2 separate regions of the Homo sapiens genome follow, and region 1 is linked to region 2. Evidence: promoter capture Hi-C in 16 types of primary human blood cells and fetal thymus (Javierre and others, 2016). All regions are on one chromosome and are shown on one strand. The core of a region is centred on a gene start or on the middle of the fragment in contact, and the rest is flanking DNA. Distances in the headings are between cores, read along the strand shown.

The links. The method cuts DNA at HindIII sites, captures the fragments that hold promoters and counts their contacts. A CHiCAGO score of 5 or more calls a contact.
Region 1: a contact is called between a fragment that was not itself captured here and the fragment with the promoter of ITGA1 in region 2, in 2 of 17 cell types (M0 macrophages and M1 macrophages). The highest score is 6.8, in M0 macrophages.

The regions. Positions count from the first base shown.
Region 1 is chr5:50,969,419-50,974,656 of GRCh38, reverse strand. It overlaps LINC02106 (long intergenic non-protein coding RNA 2106), which reads left to right and starts at 4,470. Exons shown (of 2, transcript NR_104653.1): 1 at 4,470-4,734; 2 at 5,080-5,238. RefSeq lists an enhancer at 4,469-4,990. The HindIII fragment of the contact is 184 bases long and covers 3,578-3,761 here.
Region 2 is chr5:52,784,328-52,789,803 of GRCh38, reverse strand. ITGA1 (integrin subunit alpha 1) reads right to left here and starts at 1,888. Exons shown (of 29, transcript NM_181501.2): 1 at 1,390-1,888. The coding sequence starts at 1,450. PELO (pelota mRNA surveillance and ribosome rescue factor) reads right to left here and starts at 1,888. Exons shown (of 3, transcript NM_015946.5): 1 at 1,390-1,888. It overlaps PELO-AS1 (PELO antisense RNA 1), which reads left to right. Exons shown (of 5, transcript NR_186455.1): 2 at 4,212-4,269. RefSeq lists an enhancer at 1,921-2,200. The HindIII fragment of the contact is 1,585 bases long and covers 663-2,247 here.

The DNA of each region.
Region 1 (5,238 bases), core at 2,420-4,919, 1.8 Mb after region 2:
TTTATGGCTCTTTTAAAATCATTTTACGTACATTGACTAATCTGTAAAAATTATACTCAAGGTGGAAAAATCAATAATGATAAAACTAAGAACTTCTTTGCTCTGAAATTCATTGAAGACATGGGAAGGGGTTAAAGTTATCACAGTTACAGCAGTGCAGGGTATTCAAGACTTATTTAACAGGTAGGTCATAAACAAATCATCTGGATAATTTGTCCAGATATAATTTGTCCAAATAATAGTCATTCAAATATTGTTTGTAACACTTAAATGCGAAATTGAGATATTTTAAATGATGATGTATAAGTTCTTATACAAATCCTCACTGGACTGTAGTTCTGATGGGTTGCAAAAACAAATCTATCTATAAACAATTATCTAGAGATAACTAGGATGTTTCACTTCAATTCATAGCAATTAGAGGAAATGTATTTAAATGCAAAGGATCTGTTTTTTTAAAGGAAGCATCAGATAATAGAGAAGAGCCAGTATGCAATATATAAGAAGAAATTATTACTTACTAACAGGAAAGCATTTTTAAGAGGACTGAAAAACCCTGTGAAGTAGAGGAAATTAGGAGATATAATTCAGGTATACTTTTAAAGGGACTTTTGTAAAAGTATTTAAAGAGAAAATAGCTTAGTTACCACAGATGAATAAAGAATTGGCTTAGGTTCTAGAAACCCACTATATCTAAATTCATTTATAGTTGAAAATTCAATGATCTACAATTCTTTGATCTTCAGGGCTGTTTTCTAACTCCAGGATTCAAAGAAATGGAAGGGGTTAGTAAAAATATCTGTGAGCAGAGACATGCAAAAAAATGAGGTCACCAAAAGATCAATGATGAATTATACCTTATTTTAACTTTGTTTAAAATAATTTGTAAAAAGAGTTACACAGCAAAAGCAACAATCTCTACATTTATGTTAAATCCCTGAACATAAACAACTTTAATGAAATGTTTTTAGGGAAAAATAATTCTAAATATGTGATTAAGAAGGAAGAATTCCAAGCAATTAGGCACAGGCAAAGGAAACAGGTGTCAATATAGTCCATCCCTTAAAACTTTCAGCCAGGGGACATCTCTGCTAAAACTTGCAACAATTAATACATTTTTACGTACTAAGTGCCAGTCATTGGCTAAATCCTTTACATGGGTTATCTAATTTAATCCTGCAACAATCCTAAAGGTAGGTATTAAATTTTTACAAAATTCAGGTACATTCATCTTTGAAGTAGGAGATGTAATGTGGTCTGCCACACAAGAAAAATACTAACATAAAAGTGATAAACAACTTTTATAATCAGGAGATGAAGAGTTTTCTGTGGGGACAGCAGATAAATAAATTTGGTAGTACTTTTTTCTGAGGAAAGAAAAGGGTTAACAGAATTACAAACAAAGATAATAAAATAATAAAACTTCTGTACTCACTAAAAGGCAGAATTCAGCACCTAGAGAACACCCGATTAAATTACATTAAATGTTAAAGAACCTGATATTTTACGGTGATAGGTATCAAACAATAAACCCAAGATTTGGTGAAGACCAAAGCTATAATTAATTTCAACAGTAGTTTAGATAAGTTAATTTTTGATAAAAGCTGGGGACGTTTGTGAGGTTTTGATTTGTTCGTTTAGAGAACAGCAGGGCACGATGGCTGACTCCTGTAATCCCAGCACTTTGGGAGGCCGAAGTGGGCGGATTGCCTGAGCTCAGAAATTCAAGAACAGCCTGGTCAACAAGGTGAAACCCTGTCACTAAATCAAACTAAACTAAACTAAACTAAAAATACAAAAATTAGCTGGGTGCGGTGGCGGGCGCCTGTAATCCCAGCTACTCAGGAGGGTGAGGCAGGAGAATCACTTGAAACCGGAAGGTGGAGTTTGCAGTGAGCCGAGATCCCACCACTGTGCTCCAGCCTGGGCAAAAGAGCTGAACTCTGTCTAAAAAATAATAATAATTCTCAAACACTTCTAAGTTTAAGGACTGAAAATACAGTGGCAAAGTTGCTGTCTGTTGAAGTATGGGCAGATGGCCAATAAGGTGGTATTTCTACTAGGAAGATGTAATTGGCCATTCCTGAAACGTTGGTTGGGTATCTTTCTGGGAAAGCTCCTCATAGTCTGCCATGCCTAATTCTAGATCTCACAGGCTTGGAAACCTGACTTTTATTTTATTTATTTATTTATTTATTTATTTATTTATTTATTTATTTATTTATTTTGAGATGGAGTTTCGCTCTTGTCACCCAGGCTGGAGTGCAATGGTGGGATCTCGGCTCAATGCAACCTCCGCCTCGCGGGTTCAAACGATTCTCCTGCCTCAGTCTCCCAAGTAGCTGGGATTACAGGCGCCTGCCACCACGCCTGGCTAACTTTTTGTATTTTTAGTAGAGATGGGGTTTCACCATGTTGGGCAGGCTGGTCTTGAACTCCTGACCTCAGGTGATCCACCAGCCTCAGTCTCCCAAAGTGTTGGGATTACAGGTGTGAGCCACCACACCTAGCCGGAAACCTGACTTCTTAGCAAACTGTCTCTCAGAGCAAAATCACTTTAACCACAGTGATTAAGACCAGAATCCATTGATTAAAACGTTTTGTGTGTTTACATGTATGTATATATGTGTGTGTGTGTGTGTGTGTATATATATATATATATATATATATATATATATATATACACAAAAAAGATCTCAGAGACCTAAATACATTCCCATTACTTAGCAGATATAAACAGCAATTTCAATTATAATCAGAAAGTTTCTTGGTGAACATGGAATCAGAATAAAGAAAGTTGAGGTGGAATTTCCTTGGTCCACATCTCTTCTGCCTAGCTGGTGGTTGAATGAAAATACACCATCAATTGTGTCTATTACTCTTTTTGCCAGTCCTTCAATCAGGTTATAATCTAACCCTCTATCAGCTCAGAAGACCAGGTACCTCTTTTTTCTTTCCTCAAATCCATTAGATATTGAATTATAGCTTAAGATTTGGAGGGCAAATATGTGTTGCTTATTTCAAATTCTATTTATTGACTCACTCTGCCCACATCCTAACAAAGACGATATAGAAGACCAACAGAGTTTCCTATTAATTGTCCTTTCATTCACAAGAAAGAGACATTGCTCTGACCAGCATGCTCTGACTGTCAGGGAACTTATTATCATCTTAAATAAGATCAAATTATGTTCAATAATGAAGACAAGAGTAGGAAGAAGCCACCTTGAATCCAGTGGAACTGCTGTGCTCTGAAGTAATGGTAAGGGCACAGGACTTGTCTGTTGTTTACCCATGAATGCTGTCCTTAGAATCTTAGACAGCAGCACCACCTCACCTTAATGTGTCCTTAGAGACAGCTGAAAGCTTGGTGTAACGACATACATCTAAGGATACCTTTATAAATGATAAGGCAAATTGGTCCAAACAAAAATTAAGCCTGACCTCAAAATATATCTTTTAACTAGTTATTTTTATAAAATTCAAATGCCATAGAATGTGCTGTCTGCTTACATAGACAAAGCTCTTGATGCATTTTGAGATGCCAGTTGTTTGATGGGTGAATTGTAATGAAGCTTCCTTTAAGATTATCTGCAGAAGCAGACAAGTGATCATTGAATTTAGTTTGCCATCCTATGGCCTAGGCTCCTGTTGTCATGAAAACCTGAAATTGATTGCCAAACACTTGCACAGTAATTTTGAGATTCTTATAATTTAAAGCTCAATCATTTCTTGACTGAAGGATACTTATTGAGGAAGCTTCCATCATCAACCTCCGTTTAAAAAATTTCTTACTGTGTGGATTTTAATCAGGGCAATAAAAGGATCATCCACAAGCTCCACATCACTCAGCCATATTAAATTATGATGTAATCTAGTAAAAAAATCAATAAGTGAGACCCAGTAAGGAACCTGAGACTGTTCAAGACTAGAATGCAGGTAGGCACCATATGGCCAGAAATGAAGTGACTACGTATTATCTTCAACCAGGGACATTGGATTTACTCAGTTTCTTTGGGCTGGGCAAAAATGACCTTGTAATGCATTGAGTTATAGGCTAGCAGACATTAGGCACCACACTATCCCTTCAAGGTACGGTCTTTTTAACAAGTCCTAGGAAGGGCTGTTTGAGTTAATTCAGAGCCCGCAGAAGGGCTCACAACAACCTCCTTGTTTTGTCCTAACGTGAGCTGATCCTTCTTGCATCAGGTGGCTCCTCTGACTGTCCTGCCCTTTGGGTACTGGGCAATTAATCCACAAACGCAAAATCCTGAACCCTGGGCTAAGAAAATACGAACTGATTTGGTAAACAAATGATATGTAAAATCTATACGCACAGAGTGGCAAGTGACAAAGGAAATTGCAAATGCCCCTAAATGCTCTTTCCCATCGATTGGCAGAGAGAATCTAACACATACACAGAGGAGATGGAGCATAAAATTGGGCGGACTGACTCAGAGGTTTGTTTTGATTTTTAAATCATTTGTTAAAACTAAAAATGAGTGTGCGTACGCGTGGAGAGGGGGAACAAGGCTTCTCTAATCAGCAAAGGGGCTGTCGGCAGGCGATGTACAAATGAAAGCGCGCTTTCTAAATTTCCAAAGCACTAAAGGGAGAGAAATGCGCAATTACTGTGGGATTCGCCCAGAGGAGCAGCCTCAGGAGTTGAAGGGGATCCTGTCCCTCCCAGAGGAAAGCTCACGATTGGATTGGAACTTCTAGCGACTGCCTGAGGTGAGCTTCAGGTGGGGACCGGCCCCGCCAAGTCCGAGGCAGTTATCCACAAGAAAACACGCGCGTGCCCCCGCTGCTCCTGCGTGGTGGTCGTCCGGAGACAGGCGCCCTGCAGGGCATCTAGAGGGCCCCAAATGGCTCAGCCGGGCCCGCGGCGCAACAGGCTGCACAATAAATTAAAACAATAGTGAGAATAAGCAAATGGTCTGGAGGGCGGGCGGAACCGAAGCTCGCTCTTCGGAGCTGGAGTGCCGCGGGGAGGGGGGTGTCAGCGTCCCAGGGATGAGACCTTCCCCTCCCCCTTCCGCTCCCCGGCACCCCCTCGACCAGACGTCTCTTCCGTAGGCGCGTCCTCCGGGTCATGGGGAAACAGAGGCAGAGACTTGGGAAGGAGAAATGGAGAAACCAGGGCAACGTGGTCAGTGCTGCAGCGCCATCCCTTTTTCACTAAGACCACCCTGGGCCCCTGGGCGGGAAGCCCTTCGCACACTCCAGCCGGGGAGA
Region 2 (5,476 bases), core at 639-3,138:
AGAATGAAAAAGTACAACTTGGATAGTAAACTACTGTATTCAGATTTTGCACAAAAACAACAAAATACAATCTAAAAAAATTTGAGTTGGAGAAGAATCATAGGTCAAATATGTGTAAAAAGTAGTGGCAGTAGCTGGTAAGTTAAACCACTCACCGGCTATAATGCTGTTCAGCAGTTACCACTGTTTGGATTATTGGACATTTCCTGAGTAGTGGGAAATGTTTGGATGAAAAGCCAGTAGCTAATTATTAACTCTCTTTACATTACCTCCCTTCTGAAAAAAGCTCTGCTTGCTGATAATCAACTTCTAAATCATCTTCATAAAACTTAACAATGCTTGGCCATCTAAGGCAGGTCTAAACTAGCTGGCTCTACCCTGTTTTTAGTGGTAAAAATGCTAAATTAACTAGTACTAATAACCATGCCAGCAGTAAAAACACTGAACAATTGAATATCAATGATATGTTAAAGCCAGCTGTTAATTAACCCATTAATAAGGTGATTTTCTTTCACACAGAGATTCTATCGATACACTTTCCCCCCACCTTCTTCCATTTTTCACCATTTCAACTTTCCCCCACCCCAATCAGTAACTGGTAAAAAAGATCTGACCATGAGTTCATTATTGGGAAAATCTTACAAAATGCTATATTTCAAGCTTTTTCTAAATTGGATACAACTTTGCATTTCCACTATGTTTTTAAGTCCCCTCCTTAAAAATACACATTTATGTACAAATAACAATACTATATTTTGCATCTTAAAAGTAGACTGCCCTGTGATATTTACAGAGAAAATGTTCACCATTCCTTTCTACGTTTCAAAATATCCCTCCTCTTGGGTGCTGACATAGAAACATCATTTTGGAACAAGTGGCAGTTTCGTCTTGCATCCCTGCCTTTTCTTGTTCTGCATGGGAAAAAAGCCTAAATAGTAGACAGCAAGAAAATTCAATAATGTCCACTCTGGAACAACCCGAGGGTAGGAATTTTGCATATGTATCAGGCGCCCTATAAGCATCACCCTCCCATCCCATGCCATAAAAAAGGGTGGAGGGGAGGAAATATTCAGCAAAGTCCTAATATACAATGTGTATTGTAAAAACAACTTTAATTTTAAAAGTGAATTCTACCTTCTAAGGTTTTCAGTGCTGCCTCACTCCTACTCCTAGGGTGAAGGACTTTGGAGAGACACGAAAACTAATTCATATCAAAACCAGAACGCGAAACTCCTGCCTGCCCCGTAGCCTGGCCTGAGTACCTGGAATGCCCGAAAGTGGATGGGCGCTCTCTCTTCCTATCTGGCCCATGGCTCTGAGGACCTCCCTCCCCGCTCCAAGCCCCAAGCCCGCGAGCAGGAGATGCTCAGAGAAAAGCGAGTCGCTCACCAGTGAGGAGCCAGCAGCAGGCGACAGCGACCCCTGGGCGGGCGCGGGGCCGAGGGGCCATGGCCGGAGCAGCCTCAGCGCCAGGGGGCCGCGCTGGTTCGCAGGGCAGGACCGGGCGCGGGAGCTGCGCTCTCTGGCTGGGCCACTTATCCCGCTGCCGCGGTTCCCAGTCCTCTGCCCCAGTGGCAGCGGCGCCCAGGAGCGGGAGAGGAGTGATTTCCTGTGTTTTCGTCGAATTCCTCTAAATGCGCTCCACGCTTTTCACATCCCAGACGGATTGCCACATCGCCCGCCCCTTCGCGCTCTTGGTCTCTGAAATCTCACTGGCAGCTTCCCAGGCTCTGTCCGAGACATGGACAAATAAAGCCAGCTTCGCGGGTCCGTGTTTAGGCTAAAGTCCACGGGCTGTAGAAGCAAACCTTAAAGGGACATCTGCCTTTCATTGAGAGGGTGATCTCGTTCTCCGGGCCAAATCCCCTAAGGTGGTAGGAAGGCGGGTAAGGGCTGGACCTTCGGGAGGGTGTTGCCAGCCCAGTGGCTCCGCCTTCACACCCCTTACTTCTCCCGGCCCGGGCAGGGAGGGCGCTTTGACAGTGCCTGGGCGCCCTTAACGGGAGGCAGCTTTCCCGGGTCCATTGCGCAGAGGGATTAGGCCGTCTGTGAAAATGCGAGGATCTGGAATCCCCCCTTCCATCCCCTGCGGACACTTGAAATTCACCGTGAAGTCGTTTTGCACGAAAGGGGGCGTCCCCACCACCCCGACAGGCTCCACTGAGGGCTTTGCTTTCGCTTATGGGGGGGTGGGGGGGTTGCTTCGTTTATGGTAATTCGTGGTTAAAGGGTGGTTGCAGATAAGCTTTTCTTTGAGATAACTAGGATAAGGGGAGAAAAGGAGAAGCAAGACGGAGGAAAAACAGTAAGAGGGAGAGCGAGAAGGGAAGAGAGGAAGAAAAGCAGCCTCCTTGGAAATGGAATGTGTGTGGGCTATTTTGTTTAAGTGAATTAGGATGTTTGTACGCTGGTAATTGAATCTAATAAAGAACTCGGGGCACTACTTTATTTTTTTCTTGCTTGAAACTTTCACGAGTGAAAATGCATTAAGAGTCCAGAAGTGCTTAGGAACTTGCAATGCTTCCCTTTCCTGGTGAGTTGAACAACCTCTCTGAGTCAAAAGCCATATTCACCCTAGCTTCAACCAATGCTGGCTATTTTCAAAATAGCTGTGTCTTAGCGGTTTTGAGAATTTCAAAGACAGAAAGAATAAGTGGATTTGTGTTTAGAGGAATCTGAGGGAAACAGTTCAATTCAATTCTTCAACTCAACAACTAATTGAGCATCTCTAGCAGAACTAGGGCTAGGCAGGACAAGAGTGCCACCCAAAGGAGGGTTCGTTGAGCAGAACGCAACACAGGTAGCACAGAACAGGTAACACGAGGGACAGGAAGGAAGAAGCCCACAGGGTTCACTGGATACATTGCCAGATAGAGGATCACAGCAACTAAAAGCTGGAGAAGACAAAAGTTGAAGAAGTTTAAGGAGCGTCAAAAATGGGGTGGGCAGACCCAAGGAGGTTGAAGGCCATCAGATCTCAGTATGTTGACCCATTAATCAAGAAATTCCTTTTCTATTATGTATCTGAACTGATTCACTATTTAGTAAATACATTAAAAATCTCGTTCTCCCGTTTTTAGTTTTTATAATGTCATTTCTCAGTTCTGTCTTCAAATTTACACAAATGAGTCTCTAGAAAAATTGTATTATGTTGGGTCACAGTTCAATCCCATTGGACTTTACTTAAGTTCCTTTGTTTGTGTTCAATGCTCTCATACCCTGCCAAGGAATTCATTTCCTGTGTATATCTCGTTTCCCTGTTGGTAGTATCAGTTATGTCTTATGCCTCTCAGTATGACTCTCTGTGCTTTGAACAGTAACCAATAGATATTGATTAATTCGTAGACATTTAAAAATCATAGTAAGTACTTTCCCAATGATATTTCTCCAAATTGCTTAGTTTTCAAAAACATATAATAGTGTGTCTATATATACACAATCATGTGTATGTATGTATGTGTACATATATATGTACAGCATATACATACATATGCAAATACATATATGGCATTTTAGCAAATTGCAATATATTTCATTAGAAAAAACAAAAAGAAATTGTAAAATATTGAAATAAAGTAGGGTTAACATATAATATGTTCAAGTTTACAATTACTGGGAAATTTACCTTTCTTCTGGGGGCTAATATATAATTTCAATTTTAATATTTTTATTTCCTCTAGGACTTACAAATTATTGGTGATAACCATCACTAACAGTGATATTGTTACAATTAATTTTCACAAGTTACAAATTTTATGTTTACATGTTTACATATTTATGAATCTTTTATATGTCTAGTCAATACAAATGTAGAGACTGAGAGATAACTATGGTTAGAGAATTAATTTTAGAATCAGTGCTTATTTTCTGAACTTCAATAAACCCAAATACAAATAAATGTCAAGCCGGTTATTTTCTTAACCAATTTTATTCTGACTGACAGAAAGACATGTCATTGAGTAAAGATTTAGAGAAGACAGAAACTTGCCCAGAGTCACAAACTAGTTATTGATATGAGACACTTGATGACAAATGTTTCAGCTCTAGACTTTATACTACATACTTTTCTATTTTAAATGAGACTTGATTTGATCAGATCTCTTTAAGGGTTTGGAAGCATGAGTAGGAGCATGAACCTTATTGTGAACTGCACACGCTTCTTATGAGAATCTAATGCCTGATGATCTGTCACTGTCTCCCATCATCCCCAGATGAAAACGTCTAGTTGCAGGAAAACAGGCTGAGGGCTCCCACTGATTCTACATTATGGTGAGTTTTATAATTACTTCATTATATATTATAACATAATTATAATGGGAATAAAGTGCACAATGAATGTAATGTGTTTGAATCATCTTGAAACCGTTTCCCCTACCCCTGGTCTGTGGAAAAAATGCCTTCTATGAAACCGGTCTCTCTGCCAAAACGGTTGGGGATGGCTGCACTGAAAGATTAGAGACTGAACTGATTAAGAATTTGGAAAGTGGATGTCTATGAAATGAGGCAAGAGTAATTGAGATTATTAACCAATAATCTCAAAAAGAAAAACATATACTTAAAACCAAAGTATTCTTCTTGGAGTTAATCTAATATACTGAGTAAAGTAACTAGAGTAAGTAAGGTTCTGGAGTTACGCTGCTTGGACTCAAGTCCTGGAACCACAATATAGTAGCTGTGTGATTTGGGAAACGTCATCAAGTTTATCTAAGCCTCAGTTTTCTCAAATGTAAAGTGGGAATGAAAATACTGTACTACTTCTGGTCTGAGAATTGCTGTGGGGATTAAATGAACCGAGCCTCTGAGCATTTAGCACAATGCCTGGATTAAAGTAAGTGCTCGGTTAGTATGAATCATTCTTCTCTGTAAATAGAAGAATTGGTATTAAACAGACCATGTAAACAGGGCAGGCTCTGCGTGTGGTAGACCCTGTAGGAAGTGGTGAAATTTGATGGCCATCAGAAGAGGAACTTTAATGTCCGCCTAAAAATATCTCCATCAACTCCTATTATTATTTCTGGAATCCTCGCTTTAAAAATATTTACCTTGGATTAGGGAATTATCTTGAAGATAGTTCTATAAAATGGGTATGCATGAAGACATCAGAACCCATTATAACGTTCACATGAATTTGCTTTTCAAATTGGCTGGCCGTCAGAGGTTTTTTTTTTTTTTTTTTTTTTTTAATTTTTTTACAAGAGAAGAACATTCCGCTAAGAGGTTGGGGGAATAGAAGAGGTTCTAGAACTCCGTGTCTAATGTATGCCAGGGTTCTTTAGCAGTAAGATTATAGGTTCTCAAAGCTACAGGATAAATAAGGTACTCCCACCTGGGTAGTGGGGGTGGTGCTGATTTTACTCAAAAATAAATAATTTAAAAATTGTTGTTTGCTAAAATAACAGATTTTTATAAGAAATATTTTTAAATCATGTTTTCTTTTTAAAAGTCAAATATGAGATTTTAAATACATTTTAAGGTA